5 separate regions of the Homo sapiens genome follow, and regions 2, 3, 4 and 5 are each linked to region 1. Evidence: promoter capture Hi-C in 16 types of primary human blood cells and fetal thymus (Javierre and others, 2016). All regions are on one chromosome and are shown on one strand. The core of a region is centred on a gene start or on the middle of the fragment in contact, and the rest is flanking DNA. Distances in the headings are between cores, read along the strand shown. Region 1 holds the start of HMGN3-AS1 (HMGN3 antisense RNA 1). Region 2 holds the start of BCKDHB (branched chain keto acid dehydrogenase E1 subunit beta). Region 3 has its middle 27 kb from the start of LINC01621. Region 4 overlaps LINC01621 (long intergenic non-protein coding RNA 1621). Region 5 has its middle 62 kb from the start of LINC01621.

The links. The method cuts DNA at HindIII sites, captures the fragments that hold promoters and counts their contacts. A CHiCAGO score of 5 or more calls a contact.
Region 2: the fragment with the promoter of BCKDHB here is called in contact with the fragment with the promoter of HMGN3-AS1 in region 1 in 2 of 17 cell types (naive B cells and fetal thymus); the score reaches 5.4 in naive B cells.
Region 3: a contact is called between a fragment that was not itself captured here and the fragment with the promoter of HMGN3-AS1 in region 1, in 1 of 17 cell types (M2 macrophages). The highest score is 5.8, in M2 macrophages.
Region 4: a contact is called between a fragment that was not itself captured here and the fragment with the promoter of HMGN3-AS1 in region 1, in 1 of 17 cell types (M2 macrophages). The highest score is 5.9, in M2 macrophages.
Region 5: a contact is called between a fragment that was not itself captured here and the fragment with the promoter of HMGN3-AS1 in region 1, in 1 of 17 cell types (M2 macrophages). The highest score is 5.5, in M2 macrophages.

What each region holds. Positions count from the first base shown.
Region 1 is chr6:79,231,742-79,235,071 of GRCh38, forward strand. HMGN3-AS1 (HMGN3 antisense RNA 1) reads left to right here and starts at 1,933. Exons shown (of 2, transcript NR_040671.1): 1 at 1,933-2,186; 2 at 2,321-3,330. It overlaps HMGN3 (high mobility group nucleosomal binding domain 3), which reads right to left and starts at 2,941. Exons shown (of 7, transcript NM_001201363.2): 1 at 2,805-2,941. The coding sequence starts at 2,819. RefSeq lists enhancers at 1,479-2,269, 2,270-3,059 and a silencer at 2,217-2,266. The HindIII fragment of the contact is 3,424 bases long and covers 1,637-3,330 here.
Region 2 is chr6:80,105,009-80,108,488 of GRCh38, forward strand. BCKDHB (branched chain keto acid dehydrogenase E1 subunit beta) reads left to right here and starts at 1,663. Exons shown (of 10, transcript NM_183050.4): 1 at 1,663-1,881. The coding sequence starts at 1,686. RefSeq lists enhancers at 1,459-1,959, 1,926-2,005 and silencers at 1,546-1,745, 1,776-1,875. The HindIII fragment of the contact is 20,612 bases long and covers 1,180-3,480 here.
Region 3 is chr6:79,784,013-79,787,210 of GRCh38, forward strand. No RefSeq gene overlaps it. Among named protein-coding and RNA genes, the nearest start is that of LINC01621, 27 kb to the right of the region's middle. The HindIII fragment of the contact is 197 bases long and covers 1,626-1,822 here.
Region 4 is chr6:79,803,935-79,807,348 of GRCh38, forward strand. LINC01621 (long intergenic non-protein coding RNA 1621) reads right to left here. Exons shown (of 5, transcript NR_131786.1): 3 at 3,280-3,407; 4 at 1,962-2,114. Among named protein-coding and RNA genes, the nearest start is that of LINC01621, 6.6 kb to the right of the region's middle. RefSeq lists an enhancer at 2,538-3,414. The HindIII fragment of the contact is 169 bases long and covers 1,698-1,866 here.
Region 5 is chr6:79,872,120-79,875,475 of GRCh38, forward strand. No RefSeq gene overlaps it. Among named protein-coding and RNA genes, the nearest start is that of LINC01621, 62 kb to the left of the region's middle. The HindIII fragment of the contact is 270 bases long and covers 1,537-1,806 here.

The sequences.
Region 1 (3,330 bases), core at 683-3,182:
CTACCCACACTTTTAAGACCAGCCTAAAGTTAACTTTCCTTATCTGTCCTACTGCTTGTGGGATCTATAACTACACATTCTGGAACACATACACAGTTTTAATGTTATTCAACTGTTTTGTGCTGCTAGTCTTATCACCTCATTGAATTAAACACAAGTTCCAAGAGGGCAAAAACTGTATGTCCCTACAGCATTACAACAGGGCTAGGATTCCAGATGTTTTCATTGACTTTATCTGTACCACTTCTTGCTCTGCAGAACAACTTACTCAGATGTTCATTAAATAACATTTCTTGATTTCTAGGAAAGGTTGATACAGGGGGCTAAGAAGGCAAAAAAGTACTAGGGGGACATTTTAAAAGCTTATTATATTGTAGAGCAGACAATTCTTTAGTCAAGAAAAATATTGTGTAGTATGTAAATGCTTTGGCAGTTACCCCAGCTTTGAAGATCTTGAAGAGCTATGCATGGATTGTCTCCAGTTCTTTTTTGTATCTAAGCAGGCTTTACCTAATGACAGTGGTTCCTCACATAAGTTCCAGTGAACTTCAGGATTCCATGAGGCTGCTCTAAGACTTGACTGATAGATGGATGGCCATGATCGCCGTGTTTAATCTGAGGTTGTTCCTGCCCAGGTACCAACTGAGGTCGTTAGGCTTCAGGTATAAATGGAAAGCCTTCCTATTAATCAAGGAGAGGTTTTCCATCACCGGAGAACACTCTGATGTCCTCAGGAATGACACACAGGTGCCTGTACACAGTTTTGCCCCTAGTCTCAGGACCATTGGCTAGCTTATGCATGGGGGTTCCCTGCCTTCCAGGGAAATAAAACTGTAGCTGTAATTTTACTGTTATTTTAGTTTTTTTTTTTTTTCCTTCCGTCTCCTTGAGAGAGGCAGACAGGGGAAGTAAGAATAATGGTTTCAGCAGCTCTGGCCCTTGAATAAACAGCAAGGAAGGGTTCCATCGTCAGGGTCCATTATACATAAAGTGTGCACACCTAACCTACTGTTTATGTAAACAATGGTTATAATTCCCAGGAAAAAAAGATGGCCTCCAGCTCACTTACTCTGTAACCCGTATCTTGATGATTAGTTCCTTTGTCTCTACTAGAATTTCCAATCCATCATTAACCCTCAGTCAAAATGCTGAAAATGGTGACATCACTTAATATCCTAATTCTAGTAAAACAGGGCTAGAAAATACCTTCATAAAATTAAGTTTAAATAATAAATCTCAAGTATTAGTGCTCTTAATATGCCATCTGTCTTCTTAAACTGGGAGTACCTTTGGATTTCCTTAATTCCTCTTGACCCACCCTTTCGTAAGTGAGTACGAAATGGGTGAGAATAAGACTTTGGCATCTATAGCATCTGATTAAATCTTTACTAGTAGTTATTGGTTGGTGAGATGCAGGACAATTTATGTCTTTAAGTCCCAGCTGAATGGGGGTAACACCGCTCAAGCTGTTTTCAGGATTAAATGAGATAATGCAAGTCAAATTCTGCACAGCGTGAGGGACACAGTATGTGCACAACAAACTCTAAGACTTTTAAACACTTTCAATTATTTTTAAAAAGTGGGGTAGGAGACAAGTTTCTACCCAATTTTTAGTAATAACATATAAGAAGGGGAAAGCTTTTGAATTTTTAAAACTTCAGTATTTTAAAATAATGCAGTCACTCTCACACACAAATTAGTCCATGGTCTTTGATAAAGCAAGACATTAGGTGTAATTTTGCTTCAAATTTAATACCCACACTCGTTGACACTGTTGGAAACACTGAGGCTGGCGGTGGGAGGGTGCAAAGCACTTGCTTAGGAACCAGCTGAGAAATCCTCACTGATTTCTCAGGGAGGAGGAAACCTTTCCCTTCCCTCCCCGGGACAAGTCGAAGCCCCACCCCGAGGGAGATTTGTGTCCCTGAATGTAGTAGTTGGTGTCCGGGGCCTGCGCAGAAGAGGACAGTCCGCAAGGGGCGGAAGACAAGACAAAAATGACTCCAGTTCGCTAGACGCGCAGAGGGGCGGATAGCGCGCGGACCCCGCCTTCCCCAACCGAGTGTGGGTTCCAGTCGCTGGGGAGGACCTGGTGGCCCCCTGACCTTGGACGAGCCATATTGGACGCCCCGGCGCCGTCCCGTCTTCCACGCTGCCAACTCCACCGCTCCCGCCCCGAACTGCGGGTAGGTCCAGGCCGCCAGGCCCCGCCTCGCCGGCCCCAGCCCTGATTGACACTGGAGTTGGTACATACGGGTCTGCAGCGGAGGCGAGCAGGAGGGTGAGCGCTATTTTAAACATGGCTTTCTCTTTCCCTTAGCCTAGGAGCCACCGCAGCGCACCCAGCCCGCGAGTACAGCCGCATGGGAATAATCCCAACATTTGCCTGATTTATTTTCTTCCCTCTCCTTACGCTTGTACTTGTTTTTCTCCTCTCGCTGTTTTCCCTTCACACTAATTCGCAACCTGGCAGTTTGCAAAGAGGAAACTCCCTTTCGGAATGGAAAGCCGCTTTTGCTTCTTGTTGTTGGGGGTGGAAAACATTCCAGCGAGAATGAGTTCAAAAAGAAGGGAAACCGCGTCACTGGAGAGAAAGTAACATTAAGAGATCGATGAGGACGGAGTGGGTAGGGGGGACAGAGAGAGGAACGTCTGCAACAGGCATCTAAAAACAAGCGTGGAGGAGCAAAGATTCCCAATCCCCGGGTTACTACCGCGCGCGTTCTGCGCGAGCCATTGCAATGCCAGCATTTACTGTAAGCAGAATTTGAAGGCTTTTGAAATCTTTTTTTGGTAAGACTTACCTTTCTCTTCGGCATAATGACTATGTCGGTGAAGCAAAAAGTAAAGCAACGGACTGGAACTGCTGGCGCCGCCGCTGGATGCTGCCTCTGCCTCTGCAGCTGCTCACGCGCAGGGCACGACGTAGCCCGGCCTCTTCGACCTGCACCTCCGCGGCTCCCTCTGGGGGCCCTCTGCTCGCCTCCCTGCTGCTCCAATGAGGAGCCCCGCCAGCCGGCCGCGAGGCCCCATTGGCTGAGGCAACGTTCTAAATTCCACGAGGGCACGCCCACCTCCGCGCGCGGTACGCGCTGTTGTAGTTTCCACTTCACCGAAAAAAATCTGCCTGGCGACTGAGCATGCCCAGTTCAACTAGTAGCCTCCAGGCCACACAATCCTGAAGTTTCATTGTTTCGCTGCTCTCTCTTTGAGATTGTAAGAATAAGAACAGTGTGTGTCTTCATAGGAAGGAAAAAGAGTAAGAATGAATACGTAAACTTTATAATGTAAATATATACACAGCAGGTACCTTATTCATTTCCTACCCAT
Region 2 (3,480 bases), core at 413-2,912, 870 kb after region 1:
ATCTGGAAACACTTGACTTTCAAATAAGAGTTTATTGCTCTTTTTGTGTTTCACTTTGTTTGCACTATTCTAGGACTCCTATCACATTGGATTGTAGTTGCCTAATCTGTCTCTTTTCTCTACCACCTTGGACATTTTAGAAGTAAAACTATGCCTTGATCTTATTTGTCTCAATGGTGGCTTGTCATTGGGTTGTACGTAGCAGAGGTTCAATAAAATTCTCATCAGTTATTATTTTTCTCTTTTTCTCCCCGACCTAAATAATCTCAGTACCCCCAGCTCCCTAAACTATCAACAAATAGAAAAAAAGCTCTATTCATTTTTATCCTTGTTCTTTACTCTCCTTAGTTTAAACCCAAATTTGACTATGTAAATGTAATTTCATTTTGTTACCCCTTCCTTCATTAAAACAAAAATACCCTTCATGCACATGCAAAACACTCTACCCCACACTATTAAAACAGCAGAAATGAACACTAACAAAAGCCAAGATAAAAAATTTCCCCAATGTTGAATTTTTGGACTTAGTGTGGGGGTAGGAAAAATGGAGACATAATTCTGGTTCTCCCTTTGGCAGTTTTCAATTGCTGTTTCTTAATCTCAGTCAGAAAACACATTTCTCTGCCTCTCCTTTTGCCCCATTTCTACCCTCTCCTCCCTTGCCCCTGTGCAAAACCAAAGATGGGTTAAGAGGCAAGGCATAATGGAAGAGGAATGTTCTTTTCCTCCACTCCCACTTTCTTCTTCAAATTCTGTTTTGGGACCATCCTTCCCCACCCTCCCATTTTCATCTGATGGACACACTGTCTCTGTTGTCTCTTGTCATATTTGATTTTATGATATTTCATGTTTTATGTGCTTTTTTTTTTTTTTAGTAAATTCATGGACAGAGAATGTATCCTGGTAAACACTTAGATTAAAACAAATTTACATAGTTGATTACTATAAATGAAAATTAGTGACTCAAATTCTCCAGGTTTCTAAGCTACTTAGACTAAGCCAATCAGGTAATTTTTGCTACTTCTGGGCAAAATGTATCTGAATTCCTATTCAGTGGATTTGCAGGATGAAATCTAAGTTTACCTCTTTCATCTCTCATTTAAATGTGGAAAAACGAAATCAATAAAAATCTATATATGCTTATTAAGCATTTTAAGGAGGGTGTGAATAAGGAGTGAAAGCTTTGAGCAGTGACTACAGCAGTTTTTCGAAAGTCAAAACAATAACCAATGCCAATCAGTAGCTCTCTTCACCTCTCACACAATAATAGAGACAGGACAGGATAAAAAAGGGTTACATTTAAAAAAAAGTATGGATGTTAAACCATTGGAAATGGCACTGTAAATGACACCGGAAAAGATCGCCTCCAGGCACTGTGTGGAACTTTGCAAACTCGGGTCCTCACCCGAGGACCGCACGGCCGACCTCGGGGAGGCTCCACCCCAGAAACTATTTCATTGGCGCCACCTCTAGCCCACACTTCCCCTCTTCCGCATGCGCACAAGGAGCAGAAGCCGACCAGCTCGTCACGTCGCCTTCCCCGCCCCTAAATTTCCAGTTCCGATTGGTCTGTTTCATGGGACCGCCCCTCTGGCCCGACCAATGTGGAAGCCTCCTCGGGTGCTCCGCCCTCCCCGCAGGCGGCGTGCGGCTGCATAGCCTGAGAATCCCGGTGGTGAGCGGGGATGGCGGTTGTAGCGGCGGCTGCCGGCTGGCTACTCAGGCTCAGGGCGGCAGGGGCTGAGGGGCACTGGCGTCGGCTTCCTGGCGCGGGGCTGGCGCGGGGCTTTTTGCACCCCGCCGCGACTGTCGAGGATGCGGCCCAGAGGCGGCAGGTGGCTCATTTTACTTTCCAGCCAGATCCGGAGCCCCGGGAGTACGGTGAGCCCTGGGACTGCCCACTCGGTCCCGCTGCAGCCCGGACTCCCAGGCTCGCAGGCGCCCGCGAGGGGCAGGGGCCGGCAGGCTGCAATCCTTGCATCCCAGCTTATTAACTTCCTGACTCTCTGGAACCTCCTTGCCTCAGGGTCTAACTGTGGTTCACTTCTTGCTCTATTTTTGTGACTGTTCAGCCCTCGAGACGCAGTCCCCCCTCCCCCGCAACTTTGAGATGGGTGAGAGGGCATACTGCCACCTGGAAGAGCCTGAGGGTGGAGGGGTGGTGCCCAGGGAACGCCTCCCTTTTCTCTGTCCTCCGTCCTTGCTTTCTCAACCCAGGCCTTAGGTGTTGTTCCAGCCTGGCCAGGACTGGGCCACTAGCTTAGGTAGAGGCATTTAAAAGATATATATATATGTTTATATATATATATTTTAAATGTATATTATATATATTATATATAAAATATATATATGTATATAAAATCAATTCAGTTACTCAGTCCCTTGGTTTCTTCTTACATACAGAAATTGTGTGTATGTGTGTGTGTGTGTGTGTGTGTATATATCCACACACATATATATATGTGTGGATATATATACGCGCATATATATGCATATATATGTGCGCATATATATATATATGCATATATATATATGCACACATATATATGCATATATATATGCATATATGTATATATGTCCCTTGGTTTCTTCTTACCTACAGAATTCTGAGTAATTGAACTGATTTTCCCAAGGTCACAGAACAGGTCCTTCCTAGAGATGTGAAAGAATTCAGACTTTCTACTTGAGCTTAGTACTGAGCTTGTCCTGGGCTATGCTGCCACTTAGCCAAGGAGGTGAAGGGGATGAGAGGAGGAAGCCATAGGAAGGGCATGTAGCAAACTCCTCATAGTATGACTGTTGCATGATTTTTACCATTTCTGCAAGTTTCATGTAATGTCTCTCATCAGAATATCAGATCCAGTGTCTCTCTTCAGAATATCAGGAAACTGTAGGGAAACATGTATTGCTTCCTTGTCTAATAACTTCTCATGTGCATGCTAGAGCTGACATTTTTGGAAGTGTGTCTTGTGGATAAGAATGAACAGTTATTGAGTGCTTACCAGGGTCAGGTGCTGTGTGTATGTTTCATCATCTCATTTAAGGGTTAGGACAACCTTAAAAGGTTAGTAAAGTTTTTATTCCCATTTTGCAGTTAGGTTAATGGAGTCTTGAGACAGTTTGACCAAGATTACACAGGTAAGTTAGTGGTAGCTCCAAAGCTCCAGCTTTGGAATCTAATTGATCAGATTCCAGAGCTTCCATTCTAAACAATGTACTAAGATGCGTGTAGATATAATTTACTTGGAGGGCGTCCCAGTATTGTGAAACAGTAGGTACCATAAAGGTTAATAGTAGGTGTTTTTTTTTTTTTTTCCACCACCAAGATGAGCCCTCAATTCTGTCTTCAAAGCAAATTCTGTCTTCAAAGCAAAGAAATTTTGGTCTAATACTTGAGAAATAGTCCAACTTTCCATAGTTGTAAACTTACTAAAATCTAAGTAAAATGATATCATGTTATCATGATATATATCATGATAT
Region 3 (3,198 bases), core at 474-2,973, 550 kb after region 1:
ATAACAAAAAACTGTATGGCCACAAATGTCAATAGTGCTGAGGTTGAGAAACACTGCTGCAGAGGAAGAGGAGAAAAACAACATGAAATCAACGATCAAGATTCCATATCCCTGATTAAAAACAGACTAGTTAAAAATAATCCCCAGCATCTGTCCATTTTCTGTTTTGGGACATGGTTCAAATTAGAAGGGCCAAATTAGAAATGATCCTCTGCAAAGGGACTGTTGCCGACAGTATCAGAGATGGCAGCAGAGCCACAGCCGAGGGCCACTCATTGCATGAGGTGAGGGAGGAGTGACTGGATGGTACAATGCTGTTTGTTCCTTTCTGTAGGACTGGTTAATTATTTACCTTGAATAAATGAGTTGAATTCATTTCAAATCAAGTCACTTTTTAAGTTGGCATCTTCTCTAGGGAAGCCAAGATAAGGATCATTCTTCTAGGCAGGGCAAGGTAAGGCTCATCCTTTGAGCATCCCTCATTCCACATAGAATAGGGAGTGCTCCTGTTCCTGAAGCTCCCAGGGTATCTTGCCACAGCTAAAGGAAAACATTAGAAAATCAGCTGTTGCAATTTCAAAGTCAGAAAAGGTCACGAGATGTGTACAGCTTTCACGCTTGTTTTGGATTCAGGGATGTTTGTTTCTTCCTGCCTGCTCTGTATAAGTCCGGACACTGCCACCAAGGCAATCCATGGCTTGGGTTCTAGCTTAAGTTCTGAATGAAGAGATCTCATATGTGCACAAATTACAATAATAAGCAGTACAGTAAATTCACTTTTCCTACAAAAAGAAGAAACATAAACATGAATTATTAACAGTAGTATCATGATTAAAGGAATTTACATTTCTGGGCATACAAATAGTAACTAACTCTTCATCATTCTCAACTACTATTTACTGGTGTTTGCAATTAACATTCATTTTATTTGTGTCCAAAGGAAGGGGGGGAAATAGGTGAAGAGAAGAAGAGAAAGGCATAGAAGAGAAAGGAGGGAAAACTTCATGATGACACAGATTCACATGAAAACAATACAAGATGATTTATCCAAGCAGATGTTTCCCTAATGGCTAGTTTTTTTAATTTCTTTGAGATGTACATTCCTATGTAATTATTTTAAGATTAAAGATTTAAATTAAGATGAATATGAAATTAAGATTAAATTACTGGAAGAGGAATGGCTGCATCAACTAATTAGCTCAGTTTGAATTTTGATATATATTTTTAGATTGCCCTCCGTATGTGGTGTCCCAGTTTAAAACCCTATCTGCTGAGAACACAGGAAACTACCTGTTTCTCTATCTATGACAATAACAGTTTTTATCCAACTTTAAAATCTTTGTACTGATTGGTATAAATATTAGGTTGGTGCAAAAGTAACTGCAGTTTTTGCCATTACTTTTAATGGGGAAAACCACAATTACTTTTGTGCCAATTTAATACTAGCTCATATTGTTGCTGTTTGCATATCTTTATTTTCTTCTGATATAACTATTGCCCATACGCATTTCTTCTTTTATGAATTACCTTTTAATGTCCTTTGTCCACTTTTTCCTGTGTTATCTTCTCTGATTTGAAAGTACTCTTCATCTCATAGGGATTGTATTGATTTCTCCTTTTATGTAAGCTTTAATTATTTTTTCCTCAAGCCATAGACTTATTAATGATACTTTAGATGTGCAACAAAGTTGTATTATATATGCACTTGTTCCTATTCCTTTTGCTTTCCTATATGTTATCAATAACCTGTTAGAAAGCATAATGGAATATTGGCTACTTTCTCCCTTATTTGTTCATATATTCATTCCAGAAGTAGATGGCAAGCTTTCTGCGAGTCAAGGAAAATATGAGATACTGGGAATATAATGATGAGCAAAACCGACTATATCCTCACCTTGTGGAGCTTAAAATCCATCCACAGAGCAACCACCACCACCACAATAATAATAACTTAAACAACAGAAAATCATGAGAAAGAAATAAAAATGAAATGTGCAAGATCTTTATAAAGCAAATCCTAACATTCAGCTGTAGTACATAAAGAACAGACTGCATAAATGGAGATAATTCTATACTCCTGGAAAGGAATAGTTACTCTTATAAGATGTTAATTCTATATCGGAGCCATTATAAAATAATTTAAAAATGATCTATAAGAATAAATATATGAAAATATCTAAGAAAAGTTTCACAGAAAAGAGTAATAGCAAATTTGCTCTGTGAAGTATAAAAGATTATAATTCCTCAGTACTTAAAATGATTGGAAAGAGAATTATTAAATAAATGGTATTAGGTCAACTGGTTAATTATCATGAGAAAAAGCTAAAATAGAACATTACACTTTATGCCAAATTATATTCTTGAAATATTTAAGATTTTTAATGTATAAATTATAAAAGTACTGGAAGAAAATATAACAGAATACAAATGTGTTTTAAGAAGCAAGGAAGGATTAAAAGTATAATATTGAAGACAGGAAGAACAAAATCTACTGTGTAAAAGTTTGACCACATTCATATGTGGAATAAAGATATGCGAATGAAAACAATATGAGCTATTATTTGTACCAATCAGATTGGAAAAGATTGCAACAAAAATATCAAATAAAAGTAGAAATATAGAAAACTCATGTATGTGTATGTAGTGAGGTGGAATGGGAGTTTGCAATAACTCTAATATATAAAACATTCTTTATAATTGTAAGAAAAAAGACAAATTCCTCATAGGAAAATGGGCAAAGGCTAAGGATGGGGGATTCAATAAAAAATAAATACTTTGGTAATAATAAAAGACATGCAAACAGTCTGGCAAAGATTAAAAGGCACAGTGTTGAGTCTGTGGGAAAGGTGCACTCATATGTCCACCACTGAAGTGATTCTAAATTAGGTTAGTCTTTTGGAGAAATACAGCTAGGGTAGTCTTATAAGGACTGAGGTTTATGCCAGGTGAAAGCAAGAAACATTTATTGTCCCACAAGTTCCGTGGGTCAGGAATCTGGGTGTAGCCTAGTTGTGTCCTTGGGCTTAGGGTCTTTTGCAAGGCTGCAGTCAAGAAGTTGGTGAGGGCCACAGTCATCTGAAAGCTCATCTAGAGGAAGCTCTACTTCCCAGCTCCCTGCCGGGACTGGTAGCAGGTCTCCATCCATACATTTGAGGGCATAAATACCAGGAGGGAGGATCACTAGGGTCCATTTTAGAG
Region 4 (3,414 bases), core at 532-3,031, 570 kb after region 1:
GCTTCCTGAACACTCACAGGGTATATCTGGGAAGAATTTGAGGCCATGAATAGTTCCATTAAAAGGTACACCTATCATTTATAAAGATCTGGGATTCAAGACAGAAAATGCTGACTCAACTGGCTTAAACCACATGGAATGGATGCAGGAACAATCAGAGGCCCCATGATGCCATCCACCCAGGTTTGTCTTGTCCTCTCCTCTGCTGTCCTCAGCATCAGTTCTATTTTGATGCTGTCCTCCCTGTGGAGGCAAGACAGCTGCCACATTCCTAAGTAACACATCTAGAAACAAAATACCATTGGGTGCCAAAAAGGGAGCATGGTTTCTGGTGTTTGTATTTTCAGAAACAGAGAAAACTCTCCCTCTAAACTCCCAGCATTCCACCTCTCTTGCATGTCCCACTGGCTAGAAATGAGTCACAAGCCCACTCCTAAACCTATTATTGGAAAGAGAATGGGGTCATACAAATGGGCTTAGTTCAGCCAGGATTCAGCCCTGGAAGTGGGGTAAGCCCCCTGCTTTGTGCCACATTGGAAAGAGATGAGTGCCTGATACTGGGGCTTTGACAATAGAAAATCAGGAGGGGATATATATTTCTCTAGAAATGATCTGATCAAAATGGTAGTTACTGGCTGCGCACAGTGGCTCACGTCTATAATCTCAGCATTTTGGAAGGCCAAGGCAGGAGGATTATTTGAGCCCAGGAGTTCAAGACCAGCCCAGGCAATATAGTGAGAGACCCAGGCTCTACCCACCAGCCCTCACAAGAAAAAAATTTTCTGGGCATTTGGTATGTGCCTGTAGTCCCAGCTACTCAGGAGGCTGAGGTGAGAGGATCTCTTGAGCCTGGGAGGTCAAGGCTACGGTGAGCTGAGATCATGCCACTGCACTCCAATCTGTCTCCAAAAGAAAAAGAAGAAAAGGTAGTTACTTATTGTAACAGGAAGCAAGGAGGGCCTCAGATTTGTCAGTGTTGTTCATGACAACCACACACTTTCAGAAAGTTTCAGTGGGATTCACACCTTACTTTGCACCACCACACTCCACGGGGCTTGGATGCAATTGTGCTGTATGTAAATGTGTATTGTGTATTCAACTATTCCTGGAATTCTATTTTCAATCCTGATCTTAATTAGAGGGATACTTCTTTACCACGACAAAGTCATGGTCAGAAGAGAAGCTCAACATTGTATTGAGGTCACAGAAATAGAATTCCATTATTGTGCCTAGAGCAAGCTGAGCCACATGGGTGGGAAATTTTAGACTTCAGGATTGAGGGGCCAACAGAAAATATTCAAAAATATGCAATGAATACCTTTCCACAGAATAAGACAATGCCATACATGGCCCAACTTGATCTGGTGTTTTCTCTATGTTATTAGGGTTTTCTGCAAAAGCAAACAAGCAAAAAACAGTGGTTCCATTGTTAACTATATTTGGGAAATGCTGAACTAAACAGGGTAAAACAGGTGTATCTACTTCAGGACCTCTCAGAGTTGTTGACACGGTGCCACAAATTGTGGCTCTCCAAAAGGGGACATTATATTCAGTGTTCCCCAAACATATTTGACCACAGAATACAAAATGGAATATGGTGAGACTGATGTGCAGAATCCACTTTGGGAAAGGCTGCTCAGGCCCTTCATTTTACAGCTAAATAAACTGAGGACCTGTGAAATGAAGGAATGTGTCCAAGCTTGCTCCATTAGCCAGGATTCCTCGGGAAACAAATGGAAGCATCAAGAGAGTTTGAAATTTAAAAAAAATGATTAATGTAGGCAGGATTAGGGAAGCCAACAAGATATAGTGAGACACCCAGGTGGTGGCTCTTGCCACCCCAACCCTAAAGGGGAAAGAGAAGGAAGCTTGTTACTGGAGCTCAGCTGAGAGCTGGAGAAACGGAGGGGCTGCCTGTCAGAACTGTCATGGGGTAGGGAAGAGGGGGATAAATACATGACCTCAGCCTGTCTCTCCTCCTGTCCTCTCCTTTCCCACTGGTGCTGCCCATTGGCCAAATCCATCTGGAAGCCAGAGGGCGGAAGCCTGGTGATGCAGTTTGTAGAGGTCAGCCTCCCAGGCACAGAGCTGAGCAGAGAAGGGTGAGCACATATCTGTGGGGCAGGTGGGGAATAAACAGCACAATTACATAGCTAGTATTTTGCCTTTTTCATTTTTTAAAAAAAGTTTACCTCATATTTTATAAACTTATGTAAGTTGGCTTAATAAAATTTAATGCAATATAAAACAAAAAATGCTAAAAACATAAAGCAATGGTTTTCAAGATGTGGTCTCAAAGTGTGATTTCCAGGGGTTCCCAAGACCCTTCAGATCTGCAAGGTCAATTTGTAATAATACTATGATGTTACCTCGTGTTTTCCTTTCACTCTTTCACAAGCAACCCGTGGGTTTTCCCATGCTGAGTGATGATGTTATTGACTGCTAACGGAATGTGTGCCTGTGCATTCTCATGATTTAAAATTCATCCCATTTTAATTTCTAATGTAGTAGATGATAAACATTACTCAAATAAACACAGTTTCTTTGGGTCCTCAATTATTTTTGATGTAAAGAAACCCTGAGACCAAAATGTGAAAGAACCACTGATGTAAAGGTAGCCAAAGGACAGATGTGTCCAGGTGAGAGGTGAAGCCAGCTGGACTTCCTGGGTCGAATGGGGACTTGGAGAACTTTTCTATCTAGAGGATTGTAAATGCACCAATCAGCACTCTGTAAAAATGCACCAATCAGTGCTCTGTATCTAGCTAAAAGATTGTAAATACACCAATCAGTGCTCTCTATCTAGCTAAAGGATTGTAAATACACCAATCAGCACTCTGTAAAAACGCACCAATCAGCACTCCATGTCTAGCTAAAGGATTGTAAATGCACCAGTCAGCACTTTGTAAAATGGACCAATCAGCACTCTGCAAAATGGACCAATCGGCACCCTGTAAAATGGACCAATCAGCAGGACATGGGCGGGGCCAAATAAGGGAATAAAAGCTGGCCACCCAAGCCAGCAGAGGTAACCCGCTCCGGTCCCCTTCCATGCTGTGGAGGCTTTGTTCTTTTGCTCTTTCCAATAAATCTTGCTGCTGCTCACTCTTTGGGTCTGCACTACCTTTAAGAGCTATAACACTCACTGCAAAGGTCTGCGATTTCACTCCTGAAGTCAGCGAGACCACGAACCCACTGGAATGGAGAAACTCTGGACACATCTGAACATCTGAAGGAACAAACTCCAGATACACCATCTTTAAGAACTGTAACACTCACCACGAGGGTCCAAGGCTTCATTCTTGAAGTCAGCGAGACCAAGAACCCACTGGAAGGAATACATTCAGGACATACAGGTACTTGAAAGGAACTATTCTTCATGCTGGGCACCAAATCTTCTAGTTTATCTAACAG
Region 5 (3,356 bases), core at 422-2,921, 640 kb after region 1:
TGGGGTAAGAACCTCAGACCGTACAAAGAACAGTTAATCTCATGAAAAGAAAAATTTTGGAACCAAAATGTAATAGTGGTTGTTTTAACTCTATGTTCTTTCAGTCATTTAGATCCTCTACTCATTCTCTGAACAAGCATTTTTTAAGTGCTTACCATGTTTCATGCTATGCTAGGAGCTATGAAGAAGGGGGAATAAGAGCTGCTTGGTTTCATTAACTTTAGTGTGATACACCTTCTGAATCCTGTGAATAAAGAGTCTGGGTAAACTAAGGTCAATACATAAAAATAAAACAGATTACAGATGTTCCCACAGTGAAAATGATCACTGTGCACACTGGTGTTTACTTTAATGGACACGTGAATGGGAATGGTGTCAGCACCACACTCTGAGTATCATCAACTGACTCATGAGAAATCCAGAACACTGAAAGGAGGTAGAGAGGCTGTGTTACCTCTTCAACTTTGAGCCCCATCTTGCTGAATCAGAGAGTCAACTGAATAGGATTAATATTAAGACCAAACAAGGACGGTTTCAAGTTGTTTGACTAGATATTTCCTCCTTTCTCTCTTATCATATGTTGTTTTTCCTAATTATTTAACTCTTAGGCCTTCCAATTCTATCCCTCCTTGTTGATTTATACCATCCATACTCTTTTGGGTAATTAAGATTTCCTTCTTTAGTCATCACCCCAGCATATAAATTTCATTATCTTTAACTTATCTTACTTATCTCAGTGTAAGAAACTCATCTAAATACACCTATCCACTTCCTTTTGCAGACACGATCATAACATTTGTAATTTTTCTCGGTTGTAGCTGAATAAGTTACTTAGAAGATGATTTTACATGTTCTTTTTATTTCTTTACTTATCCTCTGTCTACATTTCTGACATGTGCACATGCTCCAATATCTAAGGTTAAATCTTCACTGGTTGGGCAGGTGAGTAGTTGATATACGACTAACAGGCAATTCTCCTTCAGGAAACTCAAGATTGTGTAAGTATGCCTGATTCATCCCTGCTGCTGCAACTGAAACATGTAATAAAAGAGCAACAACAAAGAGAGGCGATGATGACAGCTTAGCTGCAGCATCTTGTTCTCTAGCTCAATAAGCCAACAGGGAAACTATGACCCTGGTGAAACAAGTAGCTCTCAGAATCATTCCAGTCATTCCAAAGAGTGATGTGATTTTTCTTCACATGTTCACAATGAAGATACTATGTTGTTTAATTGATGCTCTTTTTCAAAGTGTGTTCTCTTGTTTCTATATACCTCCCTTATAAGGCTCCATACTGTCATTCAACTTAATTTCTGTTCAACAGAGATTTCTTAAACACCTCCTACATGCTAAGCACTGTGCTAGGAGCTATAAATATCATGAGGTGGATACAGACATGGCTGTCTCCTGGTACATTCTTTTTCTATCATTCAATCACATTCACCTATTTTTAAATATGTTGATAATGAGTCAGGATATAAGAATATAAGGCTAAAAGCACGGGCTCTGATCAGAGAGACTTGGTGATGAGCCTTAAGCTTATCACTATTATGGTGGTCATAGGCTTACTTGCATGTACTACTGAGCCTTTGCTTTCCCATTTGTGAAATAGAGGTCACATTAGTACCTACTCCCCAGAATAGTTTTGAGGATTAAGTGAGATAAGTGCTCCAGTGTCTTGAATTTAGCAGTGTTAAAAAAGTAGAAGTTCTTATTAATTAATAATATGATTTTCCTGAGAATGTAAACACAGACTCACTAGTTCTCTGCCAGAAGGTGAGGCACCTCCTTGAGCCTCCTAAGAAAAGCTTTTGACAAAGGTTGAAACTGATGTGTAATTGAATTCATAACAAGCTTGTTGAATGGTCAACCAGGAAATATTAAGGTGAAGATTTCTCATGTCAAGTGAAATTAAGAGAATATGAACTAGTGCTGTGACCCCCAAGCTCCCTTTCTTTAAAAGACATTTTCTCTGATTTATTCTGAATAAAACAAGTCTGAGAGAGGCTGTGAAGTAATGGTTCTGTGGTAATTAGGTCATCTTCAGAAAGTGCTATATAAAATATTATGCATTATATATTCACAATGCACTTCATTAGCATGTTAAAAATTCAGAGAATACTAGCAGAAAAGAAGCCGGTTTTAATTTCTTATCATTTCCCAAATTCATTTGTCTGTAGGATTCTTTGTTTGTTGAATAGCATCAAGTAGCATCTCAAGGAACACCCTTTGGGAAATGCTGCTGAGAGAAGCTAAGAACTTGCTTCACGATCGTCAAGCACTGAAAAGGATTCATACTTGGGAAACTGGCAAACTGTTTTTCTGACCCTGACCCTTGCCAGTAGTATAATCATGGGCAAGTCACTTGATTTCTTCACATGTAAAACAAAATGATAATATATCCTCCATGGACAGCCATAGAGAGAAGATTCATTACAAAATGCATTTACGGTAGGAACAGAAGTTGACAATAAAAGTTAATATTGTCACAATGTGCATTCTAATTTACACGAAACTCATTGCAAGGAAGCAGATCTTAAAAGTAGTCTTGATACTGGAAGACTGGGAAGAGTTTGGGTGTGCTCAGGACAGAGCTATTGACTAAAGTGTGAGGTATGTGTAGAGAAAGATGAGGAATCAAGGCTGGGAAGACGAGAAAAGGAGGAAGATAATTTGGTGCTGGGGTGCTGAGGACACTAATAGAAATGGTGAAAAACAAATGTGAGTAGGGGTGGCTGAGGGGTAAAGCCAGACTCTTTTCTGACATGCTAGTTTGAAGAGCAAACAAACCATCCAGTTGGCAATTTCATTTATCTAGATCTTAGGAAAGAGTTCAGAGCTTGTGAAACAGGAAACATTAGCATATTATTGTGAAATTTTTGAGAGAAGAATCATTTCTTATTCAGCTCCGTATCTTCTGTGTTCAACCTGGTGTCTGGTGCGTAGTAGAAGGTCTTAAAAGTTTGACAAATGAATTAATCAATGAACAAATTAATTAACTGCAAGTCTAACAAATCAAAGTAGATTCCAAGCCATATAACCGAAGTGGAATAAAACACCAGTTAAATGAATGAAATGATAGCTGAACCCCTGGAATTGGGAAGATCCACAATTAAAGGTGCATGGAGAAAAAGAAGAGGACCAAGGACAAAACAAAGAGGTACAACTTATTTGATGGCTGGCAGGAGCTAGAGAAAACAGAGTCAGAGACTGAAGAAGAAATGAGTGTTTTGCAAAAGGATCGGAAAGAAAGGAGAAGTTGGGTGTCAATGATATAAAATGATTCTGGGAGATCAAGTGGAATGAGACTTATCTTCCGTAAATATCACTTCTTTTAGCTATGCTTTAAGAAGAGC